Linked DNA regions of Homo sapiens: regions 1, 3 and 4 are each linked to region 2. The links are contacts of gene promoters, found by promoter capture Hi-C in blood cells and fetal thymus (Javierre and others, 2016). All regions are on one chromosome and are shown on one strand. Each heading gives the region's core, a stretch centred on a gene start or on the middle of the fragment in contact. The rest is flanking DNA. Distances are from core to core; before and after follow the strand shown. Region 1 has its middle 6.8 kb from the start of NFKBIA. Region 2 holds the start of CFL2 (cofilin 2). Region 3 has its middle 11 kb from the start of NFKBIA. Region 4 has its middle 32 kb from the start of NFKBIA.

Region 1 (3,874 bases), core at 809-3,308, 680 kb after region 2:
TCAGAAATTCAAACCATCCTTTGTAATATTTGCCCAGTTTTGGTAGTATAGCAACAGATACATAAGGAACATATTGACGATTGATGACCTGAAAACACTTTTGTTAATTCCTGTGTGTGCTTGGTAGCTGCTGCTTTTTTTTTTTTTTTTTTTTCCCTGACTGGGCTTTGCTCTGTTGCCCGGGCTGGCACCATCTTGGCTCACTGCAACCTCCACCTCCTGGGCTCAAGCAATCTTACCGCCTCAGCCTCCTGAGTAGCTGGTGTCAGGCCTCTGAGCCCAGGCCAGGCCGTCGCATCCCCTGTGACTTGCACGTATACATCCAGATGGCCTGAAGTAACTGAAGATCCACAAAAGAAGTAAAAACAGCCTCAACTGATGACATTCCACCATTGTGATTTGTTCCTGCCCCACCCTAACTGATCAATGTACTTTGTAATCTCCCCCACCCTTAAGAAGGTACTTTGTAGTCTCCCCCACCCTTAAGAAGGTTCTTTGTAATTCTCCCCACCCTTGAGAATGTACTTTGTGAGATCCACCCCTGCCCACCAGAGAACAACCCCCTTTGACTGTAATTTTCCATTACCTTCCCAAATCCTATAAAACGGCCCCACCCCTATCTCCCTTCGCTGACTCTCTTTTCGGACTCAGCCCGCCTGCACCCAGGTGAAATAAACAGCCATTTTGCTCACACAAAGCCTGTTTGGTGGTCTCTTCACACGGACGTGCATGAAAGCTGGGACTGCAGGTGCGCACCACCACTCCCAGCTAATTTTTTGTATTTTTGCAGAGATGGGGTTTCACTGTGTTGTCCAGGCTGGTCTCGAACTCCTGGGCTCAAGCAGTCTGCACACCTCAGACTTCCAAAGTGCTCGGATAACAGGAGTGAGCCAGTGTGCCTGGCCTGGAAGCTGCTTTATCCCCAGGTTAGGAATATATACCTAGAGCCTGGCTCTGCCATTTACTGGCTGTGTGACCCAGGCTGACTTTCTTTCTTTCTTTCTTTTTTGTTTTTTGAGACAGAGTTTCACTCTTGTTGCCCAGGCTGGAGTGCAATGGCACGATCTCCACTCACTGCAACCTCTGCCTTCTGGATTCAAGTGATTCTCCTGCCTCAGTCTCCCAAGTAGCTGGGATTACAGGCACGTACCACCAGGCCTGGCTACTTTTTGTATTTTTAGTAGAGATGGGGTTTCACCATGTTGGCCAGGCTGATCTCAAACTCCTGACCTCTGGTGATCCGCCTGTCTCAGCCTCCCAAAGTGCTGGGATTACAGGTGTGAGCCACCGTGCCTGGCCTTAATGTATTTTTTTTTGTAGAGATGGGCTCTCCCTATATTTCCCAGGCTGGTCTTGACCTCCTGGGCTCAAATGATCCTCCTGCCTCAGCTTCTCAAAGTGCTGGGATTATAGGCATGAGCCCCCGCACCTGGTCACACTTACCTGGATTGCTGGCCGGTTTGTGGGCCTTGGCCCTATTTTCATGTCAGTGTTCAGAGTCCAGTCCTACTTGTCAATGACTCAGATTGGCTGATGCTGGGTCATACTTCCTGCCCCCTGTGAAAAGGGTGCCTGCCACAGTCACTTGGGGCATGGGATAAGATAATATAGTACTGGCAGGTAAATAGCTAACTGGAATATGAGCTCGGGTCCCGTCTCTCCCACCTGCACTCCGCGCTGGTGCCTGGGCTCAGCTCCCGTGCTATGGGCTTTCATCTCATCACGCCTTTCCATGCAGTTGTCTGTCTCCCTCTCCACCTAAGCAAGGAGCTCTTAGGGGCAGAGGCCATGACTTATTCCTCTTATTCCTGCCCTTGGCAGGAGGCCTGGAGAATAGTTCTTTTTGATGCAAATGAAGGAATGGGTTGGAGAGTCGTACTTCTCTAGGAGGGAAACACAGGTGAGGTCCAGTTTCAGTTTCTGTAATGCTCTCTTTCAATGGGGAAACAGCCTAGGATATTCTTGTCCAGGCACCAGAGGTTGGGGAATGTTTCTTGGGCATGTTTCAGACTGGAGTTCCACAACTCAGACTTTTCTTGCCAAATGAAATTTCAGCTACACTTAAGGCAAGTTAATGAAAATCTGGCAGAAAGCTGGGGGTGGGGGAGTGGGTGGGTACGGGGGTGGGAAGTCTTGGGGAAGGAAGACCCATCTGACAGACTCAATTCTGTCACCACTTAATCACTTCCAGTAGCAACTGAACTTTCCATGCAAATCCACCCAAGCTCCCAGCCTTCTGAATTTCCAGGCCCCAGGGGAAGGTCTTCAGATTGCTCAGACTAGTTTGTTCCCTCTTTAAAGAAAAATCCTTACTTTCTGGAAGGACTTGGTACACGTGGCCGCTACAGGAAATGTATCCTGATGGATAAGGCAGGCAGAAGGAATCAAGGAACTGAATTCAAGGAAGTTGCTGATGTGATATATTATTTCCCCCTCATATCACTTCCCCTTTCTCTAGGCACTCTTAGTCCTACCTGTCCCCACACAATCTGTAACTTCTTGGAGGAAATCAAAGTGCATTAAAGAAGACTCTCCGTCTGCTGGCCTGTTTACTTTGAGATCTTTTGCTCTTGTTTGCTTAGGAATTTGAAGATTTTCTACAGATTAGAATGTTTCCCTTCTAAAATTTTCCTTTAGGGAACTCCAGGCTCCAGTCACCCAACCAACAGGCAGGACAGAAAGATAATAAATTTAAAACAAAAAGAAAAGAAAAGCAGGGAGGGCTGGGTGTGGTGGGTCACACCTGTAATCCCAGGACTGTGGGAGGCCAAGGCAGGTGGATCACTTGAGGTCAGGAGTTCGAGACCAGCCTGGCCAACACGGCGAAACCCCATCTCCACTAAAAATATAAAAATTAGCCGGGTGTAGTGGTGTGCACCTGTAGTCCCAGCTACTCGGGAGGCTGAGGCAGGAGAATTGCTTGAACCCAGGAGGCGGAGGTTACAGTGAGCCGAGATCATGCCACTGCACTCCAGCCTGGGCAAGAGAGTGAGACCCTATCACACACACACAAAAAAAAGGTGGGGGGGGGGATGAGAAATGGGGAGAAGAGCTAGAGAGTAAGGAACCGGGGCAGCCTTCAGTGCTTAACTGGGCCCAGCTACCTCGAGATTTATGCAGATGACAGAACCTTTTCCAAGGTTTAGGACCTAGAAAGAAGAAAAGCTGAAGCCTAGAAAGGTGGGAGACTGGGCCCAAGTGGGTGAGAAGGGGCCCACCCTTGCTTGACCATGGAGGGTGACGCCCCTATGCAAGAGCTGGGCTCTAAGGAGGCTGGGGATGAGGGGGTGGCGCACAGCTTTGTCCTGTTTCTACAACCTAGCACAGAACTAGAGACAGCGTATGGGTGAATTGGCACAAATTTAACCCCTTTACAGAGGGAAGAAGAGTCACATTTGACTGAGTAGAAAGTACTAAGGGCATCGTTCCAAAATTGGGGAGCCAAGTTTCCAACCTTTGTTCTTTTGAGAATGAGGGTGGGGATATCACCCCACTCCCATCTTACCTCTCCCACTTAGCTGAGAGCTGAACCTAACTGACCTAATTCCTGTGGTAGGTCATTTAACACCTGTGTTGAGGTGCTTGGGGATGGACAAGGAATTTCAGGGAAGAACCCGGGCACTTTGACAGAGAATAAGACTGGTAGAGGGACCGCCAGTGCTGGGTTCCGGATGGACTAAGGCTACAGAAATGGAGCAGAGCTGGGCGCGGTGACTCACGCCTGAAATTCCAGCACTTTGGGAGGCTGAGGTGGGCAGATCACCTGAGGTCAGGAGTTCAAGACCAGCCTGGGCAACATGGTGAAACCCTGTCTCTACTAAAAATATAAAAATTAGCCAGGCGTGGTGGCAGGCACCTGTAATCCCAGCTACTC
Region 2 (3,700 bases), core at 13-2,512:
ATTCAGAGGTAGCAACTTCACAAAAGATGTGTAGGGGTCCTCTACAGTATCACCAATGTCACCCACCAAGATCTGCTTTGCTTCCTCTACAATTATTTGTCTTTTGTCATCGCTTAAACAGAAGAGAACTGCTTTCTTTCTCTTTTTGATCTCCTCTTGTGTAGAAGATTTCCTTACTTTCATATCATTAAAAACTTTGATGACTTCATCATTCACTGTAACTCCAGAAGCCTGAAAATAAACACAGAACAGTAATTCAGAACACGTATTTTGGTTTTAACCAAAATTACTGTTTGCCTAGAGAAGACTCACTTTAGTCTGGACATCAAAAATTGCACCGTACCATGTAAGTCGTCCAATCAGATTTGTCACATTTTAAGAATCAGTAGACGATACAGCGAAGGAGTCTAACTCATCCTGCCCATTCATCCTTCTTAAAGGGGTTTGGACGTGGAAGCGAAAGGGACAAATACAAGTTGTCCCATCCCTGAAATGTTTCCTATTTCACTGGGTGATGTCAGAGCTTCAGGAGTGGCAGCAAAAATACCTTCTGTATTGTGTCAACTCGGCTGGCCTTAAAAAAACACTTTTGGATTTCAGTTAATGCTTCTACTATTTTTTTCTTTAAAGTCATCCTAGCCACTGACGTTTCCTCATAAGGAAAGAGAATCAAGTGTAAACTCCAAACCGCCCACGGCCCACACACAGCTCACATGCAGACACTCCAAAACTAACTGATCGAGTGTAAAAGCTTTTACGGCGAGAAAGCATTTTAAAAAGTGTTTTCCCTCTTCCTTAATCTCCCCGTAAGGGTTTTATTACAGGCCGTCCAGACCCTGACCCACACAGCGTTCGCAGCACGTACCAATTTTAAAGCCTCGCGTGTTAAGTAAAATTAGGAAGCGAAGGGCAAAGGCGGCGCGAGCGGCTGCAGTCCGCAGACCCTCTCGCGCCCCCGCCCGCCCGGCCCCGACCCCCAACCTGCGCCGACGCCCGGGCCCTCCCCGCCCCCCAAAATCCAAAGAGCAGCAGGGCAGGGCCTGACGGCCGGAGGGCAGGCCGGTCGGCTGGAGAGCAGCGGAGCCGCAGAGCAGAAGCGCCCACCTTGGAGGCCAAAATCAGGTTAAAATGGCGGCCTCACTCCCGGGGCCGTGCGGGGGGCTTTTCTCGCCTCGCCGCGGCCTCCCGGCCAGCGCGCTCGTCTTACCATAGTGCCCTCGGCTGTGGCTGCGGCGGCAGCTCGGGCTTCGGCTCTGTGGCACTGGGAGGAGAAGGAGGGGCGGGCGAGCGGGTGGGCAGCGGAGAGTGCGGGGCACGCCGGGAGCTGCAGCCCGAGGGAGGTGGCGGGGCTCGGCGGGCCGCAGGCAGCGGGCGGGGCGGTCACGTGGGCACGCCTGGTCCCCAGCCGGCGCCACCCGCTCCCAGGCCGGCCCTTCTGTCTCGCGGCCCCGGCTCCCCGGCTGTCCGCGTCCTCGGCCTGACCTCAGAGCGCGAGCCCTGCAGGCCGGGGGGGGCGACGCGGTGGTAGCGGAGCCCGGGAGCCTGGCAGAGCCGCCTCCAGCCCCCGAGCATCACCCGTCAAGCCGGTGGGAGAGAGTGCTGGGCTCCCAGAGGGGCGTTTCCACCGCCTCCGTAGGGCCCTGCGCCAGGGGTGGGTGCGTGTGAGGGGAACTCCTGCGAAGGTGTCTTTCCTTATTTACCTGTGGTTTTCCCGAAAGAGGCTGGATTTCGACATTTTGAGTCTTTTTGGAAAACCCCCAGTTGTTTAGAGATAAATGAGAATAAATACTACACGAGATTGCTCCAGTTGATAGTACTTAGCAAAAACAAAATGATACGCAGTGTTGGTAAATCACTTTTCAAAACTCTGGTTGAAATAATAATTATGATTAAAAAATTACGTGGTAGCATTCCTTAGTAATATCCTTTTACATTTTAGACTTCATAGGAAATGGATTGTACTCTCTCTTAGAGATTTCATGAAGCTCCAGCTATGACAGCTGATATCAAATAAGCCGACGCAGCCTCTTCTAGCAAAGCCCATATAACTGCGCCAAGGCAGTTTCTCTTTTTTTAATCTTAACTCCTCCATACCTCAGGGTTCTTCATGTGTAAAACAAACTGTTATTAAATTATCGTTAAGGCCCTTTCCAGCTTTAGATTTCAGTTTCTGAGTATATCAATGTTCAGTAGGAAATGGTGTGTTTTTGGTGGTCTCAGGATTGAGGTTAGGCAGGAAAGTCATGAGATGGTGTTTGCCCTAGATTGCGTGATAAGTTCTTTCAGCCCAAATTTACTGTATTTTAAATGGAACATGCTAGGCATTGAAACAGACCTATTTTTCTGTCTATATCTTGGGTTTGTTTTCTTAATTGGAAGATAGACTTCGTTTAGAGACAAAAATTGAGAAGGGATTTCCCAATGTCTAAGCATGAATCCCAAGCAAGTGGATAATACTTTATATCTAGCTGGTACATTACAATTTATGGAACCTTTCACTTTATCTGTTGAACTTCCAAGAAGTCATGGAGAATGTCTCTCCAGAGCTCTGATCATCTGCTATGTGTAGGTATTAGCAAATTCCTGTTCGCTTCATCTTGCGGTTACCTTCCCTTCCCAACCTCAGAGATTTGCAGCAGCCCCAGCAGAGACCAGGTCTGATGACACTGGGGCCTAAAGTGGGTGTCAGAACCTTACCCACCAAAGCTGGGGATTCCAAAGATGCTAGTCACCCCCTAGCTCGGACTCCAACCCCTTTCCATGCCTCCCATTCTCTCTTACCCTCCCCAAACAGAGATGGTAATTCACATGTTCTAAGATTCTTTTCCTGAAGTTATTTTTGTCTTGCATATATTTTGTTACATTATAATAACTTGTTTATGTCTTCTGCCACCCTACTGCGCTGTAAGCTCCTTAAGGATCTGAGTCCTGGTTATCTTTGAATTTCTGGAACCTGACAGATAGTAGGTGCTTAATAGGTGCTGAAATAATACATTTAAGATGCTTTAGTGCTGTAAAGAGAATGAAAAGGAAGCTTCTGAAAATTGTGAAGCCTTTCTACATGCCCTTGTGAGCATGGCACTGAGAATGTCAGGGCCAGTAGCAGCTTCCTGCCTTCACCTCTGTGAGTTATAACCAGAACTTACCACCACTTGGTAAAGGGGCAGCATTGCCAATCATTGCTGCATGAATTTTGGTCACTGTGTAGTGGAGGGGGATCTGAGTGTCAGATACCACATGTATTAGCGTTCGACTGTTGCTATAACAAATTACCATAAAATTACTTGTTTAAAACAACACAAATTTATTATTTATGGTCTTACAGAGTCAGAGAAACAAGTCTCTCTCTCTATATATATATATTTAAGAGATAGTCTCTGGTTCTGTTGCCCACCCAGGTTGCTGGAGTGCAGGATGTGATCATAGCTCACTGCAGCCTCATACTCCTGGCCTCAAGTGAGCCTCCTGCCTCAGCCTCCCGAGTAGTTGGGATTACAGGCATGAACCACCACAACTAGCAGAAATAAGCCTGATGGGGCTAAAGTCAAGAGACTGTAGTGGGAGACTCCTTTGCCTTTTCCAACATCTAGAGGCTGCCCATCATTTTTTTTTTTTTTTTTTGAGATGGAGTCTCACTCTGTCACCCAGGCTGGAGTGCAGTGGTGCTATCTCGGCTCACTGCAAACTCCGCCTCCTGGGT
Region 3 (4,082 bases), core at 1,486-3,985, 700 kb after region 2:
TTAGGGATCAGGTTCATCTCCAGGTTGCCAGGGCATCAGGAAAGCACCTCGCTGGATTTCAGGGCAGGAGGAGGGGAGTCACAGGGTAAAGGGAAGAGGCTACACACAGAGCAGGAGCAGGGGCTATGGGAGTTAGGGAGGGAGCCGAGGGGGAATTTTCCCTTCACAAATGGCAGGGCAGAACACCAACATGAGGAACACAGTATATGCATGGTGCTGTCTGCAGTGACATCTTCTGGCCATTTGTGGAAGAAGTTTTCTCTGAGGCATCACCGATTCTTGAGAAGAGGAATTTAGGAATGTTGAGTTGAGGAGGTACACCGAGACTGGATATGAAGTTGTGATTGTGGTACATCACTTAACACAGTCCCAAAGGAAAGACCCCCACTTTATCTGTGAGTGTTAGTTTTCCTTCAGTGCCTGTTGCCAGTCAGCTCAGTGCATCCTGCTATTGACACGATACCCGGACCATCCTCTTCCTTCCATCTTCACTGTCCCCACGGTAGTGCGGGCTGAGTTGTACCATGGTAGCTTCTTGGTACTTTTTGTTATTGTTGTTGTTTTGAGATGGAGTCTTGCTCTGTTGCCCAGGCTGGAGTGCAATGGTGTGATCTCGGCTCACTGCAACCTCTGCCTCCCAGGTTCAAGTGATTCTCCTGCCTCAGCCTCACCAGTAGCTGGGATTACAGGCACCTGCCACCACACTCAGCTAATTTTTGTATTTTTAGTAGAGACGCAGTTTCACCATGTTGGCCAGACTGGTCTCGAACTCCTGAACTCAGGCAACCCACCCTCCTTGGCCTCCCAAAGTGCTGGGATTACAGGCGCAAGCCTGGCAAAAATGAATTATTTTTAAAGTTGAAACAGAATACCTTCCTGTGATTAAAAAAAACCAAGCAGTCTAAAAATATTACAATTATACAATTAAATCTCTCTTTTGTTTCTTTTTCTTTTTTTTTTTTTTTTTGACTTGTTGCCCAGGCTGGAGTGCAATGGCGCGATCTCGGCTCACTGCAACCTCCGCCTCCTGGGTTCAAGCAATTCTCCTGCTTCAGCCTCCCAAGTAGCTGGGATTACAGGCATGTGCCACCACGCCTGGCTAATTTTTGTATTTTTAGTAGAGACGGGGTTTTACCATGTTGGTCAGCCTGGTCTCAAGCTCCTGACCTCAGGTGATCCACTCACCTCGGCCTCCCAAAGTGCTGGAATTACAGGCATGAGCCACCGTGCCCAGCCTAAATCTCTTTTCACTGAGGCTTCTAATATGCATTTTCATTATATCATTTCCTGTAACAGAGCCTCTGTTGACCTTCCATGGGCTGCAGGAAACGGTCTGAATTCCTCAGCTGCATTTAAAGTCCTCCAGAGTCAGACTCTACCCTGCCCAGCCACTCCTCATCACCATTTCCCCCGAGCACCAACACTGTGCCAGCTGCTCTGGCCTTCATGCAGGCCTCTCCCTGCCTGTCCTAGGACCACCTTCTTTCAGCTTCCTTGCCAGGACCCACCCTTTCCAAAACTCCTTTTCTGTCTTCCTCTTCTTGGAGCCCTCTGCCCTCTTCTAAATCCTGCTAGCTTTTACAGCTTGCCTTGAATATTGGGCCACATATTGTCTTATACTGCTTAGTTATTGCTTGTGTCCCTAGTTAAACACAGAATAGTGTTGGGTGGGGCAGGGGCTGCTGGGTGGGGAGGAGACATTCATTTCTTCTGTGTCTCTCTTACCCTGGGCTTCCCTTGCCATTGATTCAGGCATGAGTATCCCCTTTGCTTCATACCTGTCATAATTTTTCTTGGACCCTCCTCCTCTGTTAATACCTCACTTTGCATGCAATCGATTTCATTCTTTTCTATCTAGAAATTATCTCAAGAGGCCATCGGGTCCAGCTTCTGCTTTCAGGCAAGTAAAGTGTTACCATTCCCATTTTACAAAGGATGCAGACACTCTGAAATAAAGGCTATTAGGAGGATGGGGGCACATCAGAGCCACCATATCCCATCCTATCCTAGAGGAATTGAATGTGAGTAGAAGTGAACAGATTATAAATAGACCTAGATAGTGTCCTCCTTCTCTTCTTTTCTTTTCTGTTGCCTGAGAGTAACCTCTGGGGTGGAGCCCAGGGTAGAGGAGGAAGGCTCCTTTTCAAACCTTCAGTTAAGGAGTTAAGGAGATAGGTGATGTCCTGGAGGCTTGCTTAGTCCAGTTCCCCAGGGCAAGATATCTAACAGGAAATTGGGGCAGAAGCTCTAGTTTAGAGGAATAGATGAGCATTTGCCTGGAGTATTCCCCATGTTAGAAATGTACTGGGGACATAGAATGGTGGGAAGGAAGCAGAATGAGAATGAGTGTTGTTGGTTGAAAGGCCATCTGACAAAGTGATGCATACTTAGACCTCTCATTGAGGACTGCAAGGCTAACGGCCCATGGACATATGACTGGCTGGCCCAGGTAGGGGTGTGGTGGCCAAGGCCCACCTGCTGCCCTTCTGGGGTGCTCTTTAATGGCTTTCAGAAGCAGAGGTATTTGCAACACCAAAATTTCATAAGCTCAAGAGCTTGACCCAGTTTAACAGAGTATACATAAACCAATAATATTTAAAATGAAAAGCCCATTGGTGTACAGAGAATGATGTATGCTTTGCAGTCTGACTAAGGCAACATCTGGAACAACTGATTTCCCAGGAAAGTTTCCCTTGAAGAGGAAACCCTAGGCAGTTTAGATCCGGGTAGACTTCACATCTTGGACTTTGGGCACAGAGAACTTCATTCAAATACTATTACATATGAACATATACTAAATTGTTTTATAAAAGTGGTACAGGAGGCTATTTGACGTATTGAGCCTCAGGGCATCACTGCAGCTTTCTGTTGTTAAAGGCCTTAACCTTCTCACTTTGTCTTTTCACTAGCAAGATTGAGTCTATCGATTTGTCAGGCCAGCTCAGTGACAAGACTGGAAATTAACTTAGAGGTATATGGGAGGGTTGTTGTCTGCAGGGTGTTGAACTGAGGCTAAAAATAGGTGGGGATTCCTGGGGCAGCCTCCTTCGTGGTCACAGGCACCACAAAAGGAAAACTCAGCAGGGAAATTTGCTTTCGAGCCCTGCCCACAAGGGAGGGTAAAAGCCCCCACCTCTGTTGCTCCCCACAGGAAAAGCTCAGGGTGACAGTGAGTTTGGTGCTTTCAAAATGTCAGGGCTCTCACAGACAGGCTGTCACCCCTTCCCGCCCCCAGACTTCTGATCAGAGGCTTTCCCTCTGGGTAAATTCACTTTCTTAGTTCAAGCTCAAATGTCTGTCCCTGACTGCCTGTAGCTATGTTTTGTCGCAGGCCTGATTAAGATAAAGGGAATGTGAAATATTGACACAACAGGGTTAATATGGGGGAGAAAAAAAACTCTAAAGAAGCAAAGCACTGTAGGTAGGGAAAGCAAAACCCATTAATCTGTCAAGCATTTATGAAGCTCTTTTTTTTTTTTTTTTGGTGCCTGGCACTATGCTGTGATATGGAGCATAATAAAAATAAATTTTTATTTATAAAATAAAAATAAATATGGCTCCTGCTCTCAAGGCGCTTCTAGGCTGGTGAGAAGACCAGCAGGTAAATGAGTAATTCTAGTAGGGAGTGATCAGAGATGTGGCCGAGGCCTGAACAAAGTGGCCTGGGAGCATGAGGCGAGGGAAGCCACACCACACTGAGAGGGATGGTCCAGGGCAGCTATTGAAAGACAAGTCAGAGTCAGGAGTGGGAAGAAGGATGTGCAGGCAGAGGGTTAAGCCTGTGGTGGGGCTGGGAGGTGTGAAAGCAGCTTCACAGGGCTTGCTGTGTGGTAGCGGGATATGAGTAGGCAGGAAAGACACAGCACACAGTCATGTGACCGAGCCGAGAAGCTGGGCCTGCACCCTGAAAGCTGTGGTGGATTACTGATCAGGTGTATGCTTTAGAAGACAGTGTGGCAAATAAACTGGAGTAGGTTAGGCATGAGGCTGGTGGCCAGTTAAAGACAGTGACTGGAGGCCAGGTGCAGTGGCTCATGCCTGTAATCCCAGCACTTTGGGAGGCTGAGGCAGGTGGATCACCT
Region 4 (3,915 bases), core at 917-3,416, 720 kb after region 2:
GTAGATGGGACTACAGGCATGTGCCACCATGCCCCACTAATTTTTGAAATCCACCCGCCTCAGCCTCCCAAAGTGCTGGGATTACAGGTGTGAGCCACTGCACCTGGCCAGAACCTGGAGTTTGTATACCCTTCTTAAAAAAAGAAGATGGGTTTGGGCTTCAAGGGAAAATATTGTGGGAATTGACTAGGAAATATATGAAGGAAACTAATGGGAGATAAGGGTTATTTTAGTAGGGCTTGTTTATGAGGAGTCATCTTGGTGTGACATCTCTGGTAATGAGTCATTCTCAGTTTCCTGGCATAGAGGAGTACCTTCCTCAAAGGAAAATTTATGTCCTGTTTTTAGGCAGATAAAGGGAGGGCAGAGACCTTTTCCTCCATCAGTTGCCTTCAGCTCAAAATAATCCTTATGCCAAAGTGGCATATTTTGGGATGGCATATCCTGATCTCTTTCAGTAGCATCTCCCCATTTTTAGAAAGAAAGAAATGGAAGTATAGTAAGATTAGAGGATTTGGCTCTATTCACATGGCAAATTAGTGGCTTAGCTGGAACCAGAATCCCAATCTTCTGATCATGAGTCTTATAATTACTTTTATTATCTGAAGGTCAGGACCCAGCAGATGCTTTGGTTGGCAACAGAAGCATCAGGGTACACAGACTTTAGTAACCAATTCCTCCTAGACAAATGAGTGTTTACATTTTCAGTCTCAATGAAGGTTAAATTTTAGCATCTAACTACGTTGAAGAAGCGTTTGTACATGTTCTCCTTTTTCTTTATTAAGGAAATGTACACACACACAAAACCTTTACAATCCCATGATTCTGAAATAATGCAATTCCCACTGAAATAGTTATTTTGAGTTATCTTTGAAAGGAATTTTTTACTGGCTCAGTTATTTGTTCTCAGATAATTAGACCTCTTTCTCTACTTTTCAAGTGATTTAGTATCTTTTTTTCTGGATATGAAAGTTCTAAGTCCTCTGTTTATTAAAATTTCCAACATTACAGATATATACAACATGGTTATTAACAATATACTGTGTCTATCACACTCAGAGATAATCACTGCCAATTACTTAGTGTATTTCTCTCTAGGTTTTTTTCTATGTACATACTAAAAATATTTTTTTCACACAAAAATGGGATCATGTTATTCATACTGTTTTTTAAAACTTGAAGTAAAATCTATACAACATAAAATTTATCATTTTAGCCATTTTAAACTGTACAATTCAGTGTCTTTTAGTATAGCCACAATGTTATGCAACCAATTACCACTATTTAATTCCAGAATATTTTTGTCACCCCATAAACACCACCATACCCTATTCATACAGCTTGGCATCTTACTTTCTTACTTAATGCAACCTTCTACGTGAAGATATGTCACATTCTATTTCATAGCTCTATAGCATTTCATTATAAGCACCATAGTTATTTAAACAACTTCAATTAATGGACAGTTGCGTTATTCTGGGTTTTTTTTTTTTCTTTTTTTTTTTAGAGATGGGGTTTGTCCATGTCACCCATGTCACCCAGGCTGGTCTTGACTCAAGGAATCCACCTGCCTCGTCCTCCCAAAGTGCTGGGATTACAGGTATGAGCCACTGTGCTTGGCCTATTCCAGGTTTTTAAAATATTATAAACAGGCCAGGCGCAGTGGCTCACACCTGTAATCCCAGCACTTTGGGAGGCTGAGGCGAGCGGATCACCTGAGGTCAGGAGTTCAAGTCCAGCCTGCCAACATGGTGAAACCCTGTCTCTACTAAAAATACAAAATATTAGCCAGGTGTGGTAGTGGGCGTCTGTAATCTCAGTTACTTGGGAGGTTGAGGCAGGAGAATTGCTTGAACTCGGGAGGCGGAGGTTGCAGCGAGCTGAAACCACGCTACTGCACTCCAGCCTGGGTGACAGAGTGAGACTGTCTCAAAAATAATTAAATAAATAAATAAACAATCTATACTAAATGTCGAACATTTGCACGCTTTTGTGAGATAAATTATTAGAAATAAAAATGTTGAGTCAAAGGGCATGAACATTAAAAATGCAATAAAAATTGTTGTGTTTCTCTCCAAAAAAGTTGTACTAATTAACAATCCCAGCGAGGGTATTTCCCCATTCGTGTTTTCCAATCCTCTTGTCAACCCTGAATATTATACATTTAAAAATTTTTTCCAATCTGATAGGCAGAAATAATTGCATTATTGTTTTAGTTTTTGATTAATTATAAGGGAGGTTGAGCATCTCTTAACATTTCTAGCAATCTGTATTGTGTGTGACTTGCCTGTTCATGCTCTTTGCCCATAGTTCTACTGAGTTGTTTTCTTTTTCTTATTGATTTTTAGTTAGTTAATAAGAAATGTTTGTTTTGGAAGACTTTTTTGGTTTTCATTTTAAATCAACTTTATTCTTCCCTGCGCAGAAACAAATTTTCTTTGAGTCATCTGTGTTAAAAACTTCCAGGCCATTTAGTTAATGAACCTTTTCCTGCTGAAGAGGGCTTGGCCTGTGATGGTCAAAAGGATACTAACACCCTATTTCCCTTTCTTTTAGAGCTACCATCTCCTTTTCTCTCACATTAATTGCTTTGTGTTTTCCCTGCTTGATGTGTTTGACCTTAGGTTTTTCAAGTAGTCCTTCCTTCCTTCCTTATTAATACCCAGCTGGTTTTTTTTTTTTTTTTTTCTTTTTTTTTTTTTTTGAGATGGAGTCTCACTCTGTCACCCACTCTGGAGTGCAGTGGCATGATCTCGGCTCACTGCAACCTCCACCTCCTGGGTTCAAGCGATTCTCCAGCCTCAGCCTCCTGAGTAGCTGGGACTACAGGTGTGCACCACCGCGTCTGGCTAATTTTTGTATTTTTAGTAGAGACAGGGTTTCACTGCGTTGGCCAGGCTGATCTCAAACTCCTGACCTCAGGTGATCCACCCGCCTCAGCCTCCCAAAGTGCTGGGATTACAGGCCTGAGCCACTGTGCCTGGCCCTATCCAGCTGTATTATGTCAGAAGAAAATGAATTCCTTTGGAATTTGGAAACGTTGTATAAGGAAACCCCATTGCATTAGTACTCCTTTCAAGATTTGTCCAATTTTTGTCTCAACCAGAGTATTCTCTGATTTAAAGTTTGTTTTTTGGGCTGGGCACGGTGGCTCATGCCTATAATCCCAGCACTTTGGGAGGCCGAGGCGGGCGGATCACGAGGTCAGGAGATCGAGACCATCCTGGCTAATAAGGTGAAACCCTGTCTCTACTAAATATACAAAAAAAAAAAAATTAGCCAGGTATGTGGCGGGCGCCTGTAGTTCCAGCTACTCGGGAGGCTGAGGCAGAAGAATGGCGTGAACCTGGGAGGTGGAGCTTGCAGTGAGCCAAGATCGCGCCACTGCACTCCAGCCTGGGCAACAGAGACAGACTCCGTCTCAAAAAGAAAAAAAAAAAGGTTTGTTTTTTGGCCAGGTACAATGGCTTACGCCTGTAATCCCAGCACTTTGGGAGGCCGAGGTGGGCGGATCACCTGAGGTCAGGAGTTCGAGACCAGCCTAGCTGACATGGCAAAATCCTGTCTCTACCAAAAACACAACAATTAGCCAGGCGTGCTGGTGCGTACCTGTAGTCCCAGCTGCTCTGGAGGCTGAGGCATGCGAATCACTTGAACTCGGGAGGCAGAGGTTGCAGTGAGCCAAGATCACACTGCTGCTCTCCAGCCTGGGTGACAGAGTGAGACCCTATCTCAAAAAAAAAAGTTTATTCTTTGGAGTCCACCTGCTCTAAATGTTTTTTGGACTCAGAGTGAAGCCCTCACCTCAAAGCCAATGACAGCCATTAATTCTTTGTCAGTGTCAGAATGCTTGCCTAAATTCCAGGTTAGTTGGTCGTATGTAATTTTCCTGAGCTGCCTATAGTGGGAGCCCTT

What was found. The method cuts DNA at HindIII sites, captures the fragments that hold promoters and counts their contacts. A CHiCAGO score of 5 or more calls a contact.
Region 1: a contact is called between a fragment that was not itself captured here and the fragment with the promoter of CFL2 in region 2, in 3 of 17 cell types (total CD8 T cells, total B cells and naive CD8 T cells). The highest score is 6.1, in total CD8 T cells.
Region 3: a fragment that was not itself captured here is called in contact with the fragment with the promoter of CFL2 in region 2 in 15 of 17 cell types (total B cells, naive CD8 T cells, naive CD4 T cells and 12 more); the score reaches 13.6 in total B cells.
Region 4: a fragment that was not itself captured here is called in contact with the fragment with the promoter of CFL2 in region 2 in 1 of 17 cell types (neutrophils); the score reaches 7.1 in neutrophils.

Annotation. Positions count from the first base shown.
Region 1 is chr14:35,395,969-35,399,842 of GRCh38, forward strand. No RefSeq gene overlaps it. Among named protein-coding and RNA genes, the nearest start is that of NFKBIA, 6.8 kb to the right of the region's middle. The HindIII fragment of the contact is 6,677 bases long and covers 1-3,874 here.
Region 2 is chr14:34,713,331-34,717,030 of GRCh38, forward strand. CFL2 (cofilin 2) reads right to left here and starts at 1,263. Exons shown (of 4, transcript NM_138638.5): 1 at 1,208-1,263; 2 at 1-231. The coding sequence starts at 1,210. RefSeq lists silencers at 960-1,019, 1,110-1,699. The HindIII fragment of the contact is 2,283 bases long and covers 750-3,032 here.
Region 3 is chr14:35,413,214-35,417,295 of GRCh38, forward strand. No RefSeq gene overlaps it. Among named protein-coding and RNA genes, the nearest start is that of NFKBIA, 11 kb to the left of the region's middle. The HindIII fragment of the contact is 8,767 bases long and covers 1-4,082 here.
Region 4 is chr14:35,435,092-35,439,006 of GRCh38, forward strand. No RefSeq gene overlaps it. Among named protein-coding and RNA genes, the nearest start is that of NFKBIA, 32 kb to the left of the region's middle. The HindIII fragment of the contact is 4,638 bases long and covers 1-3,915 here.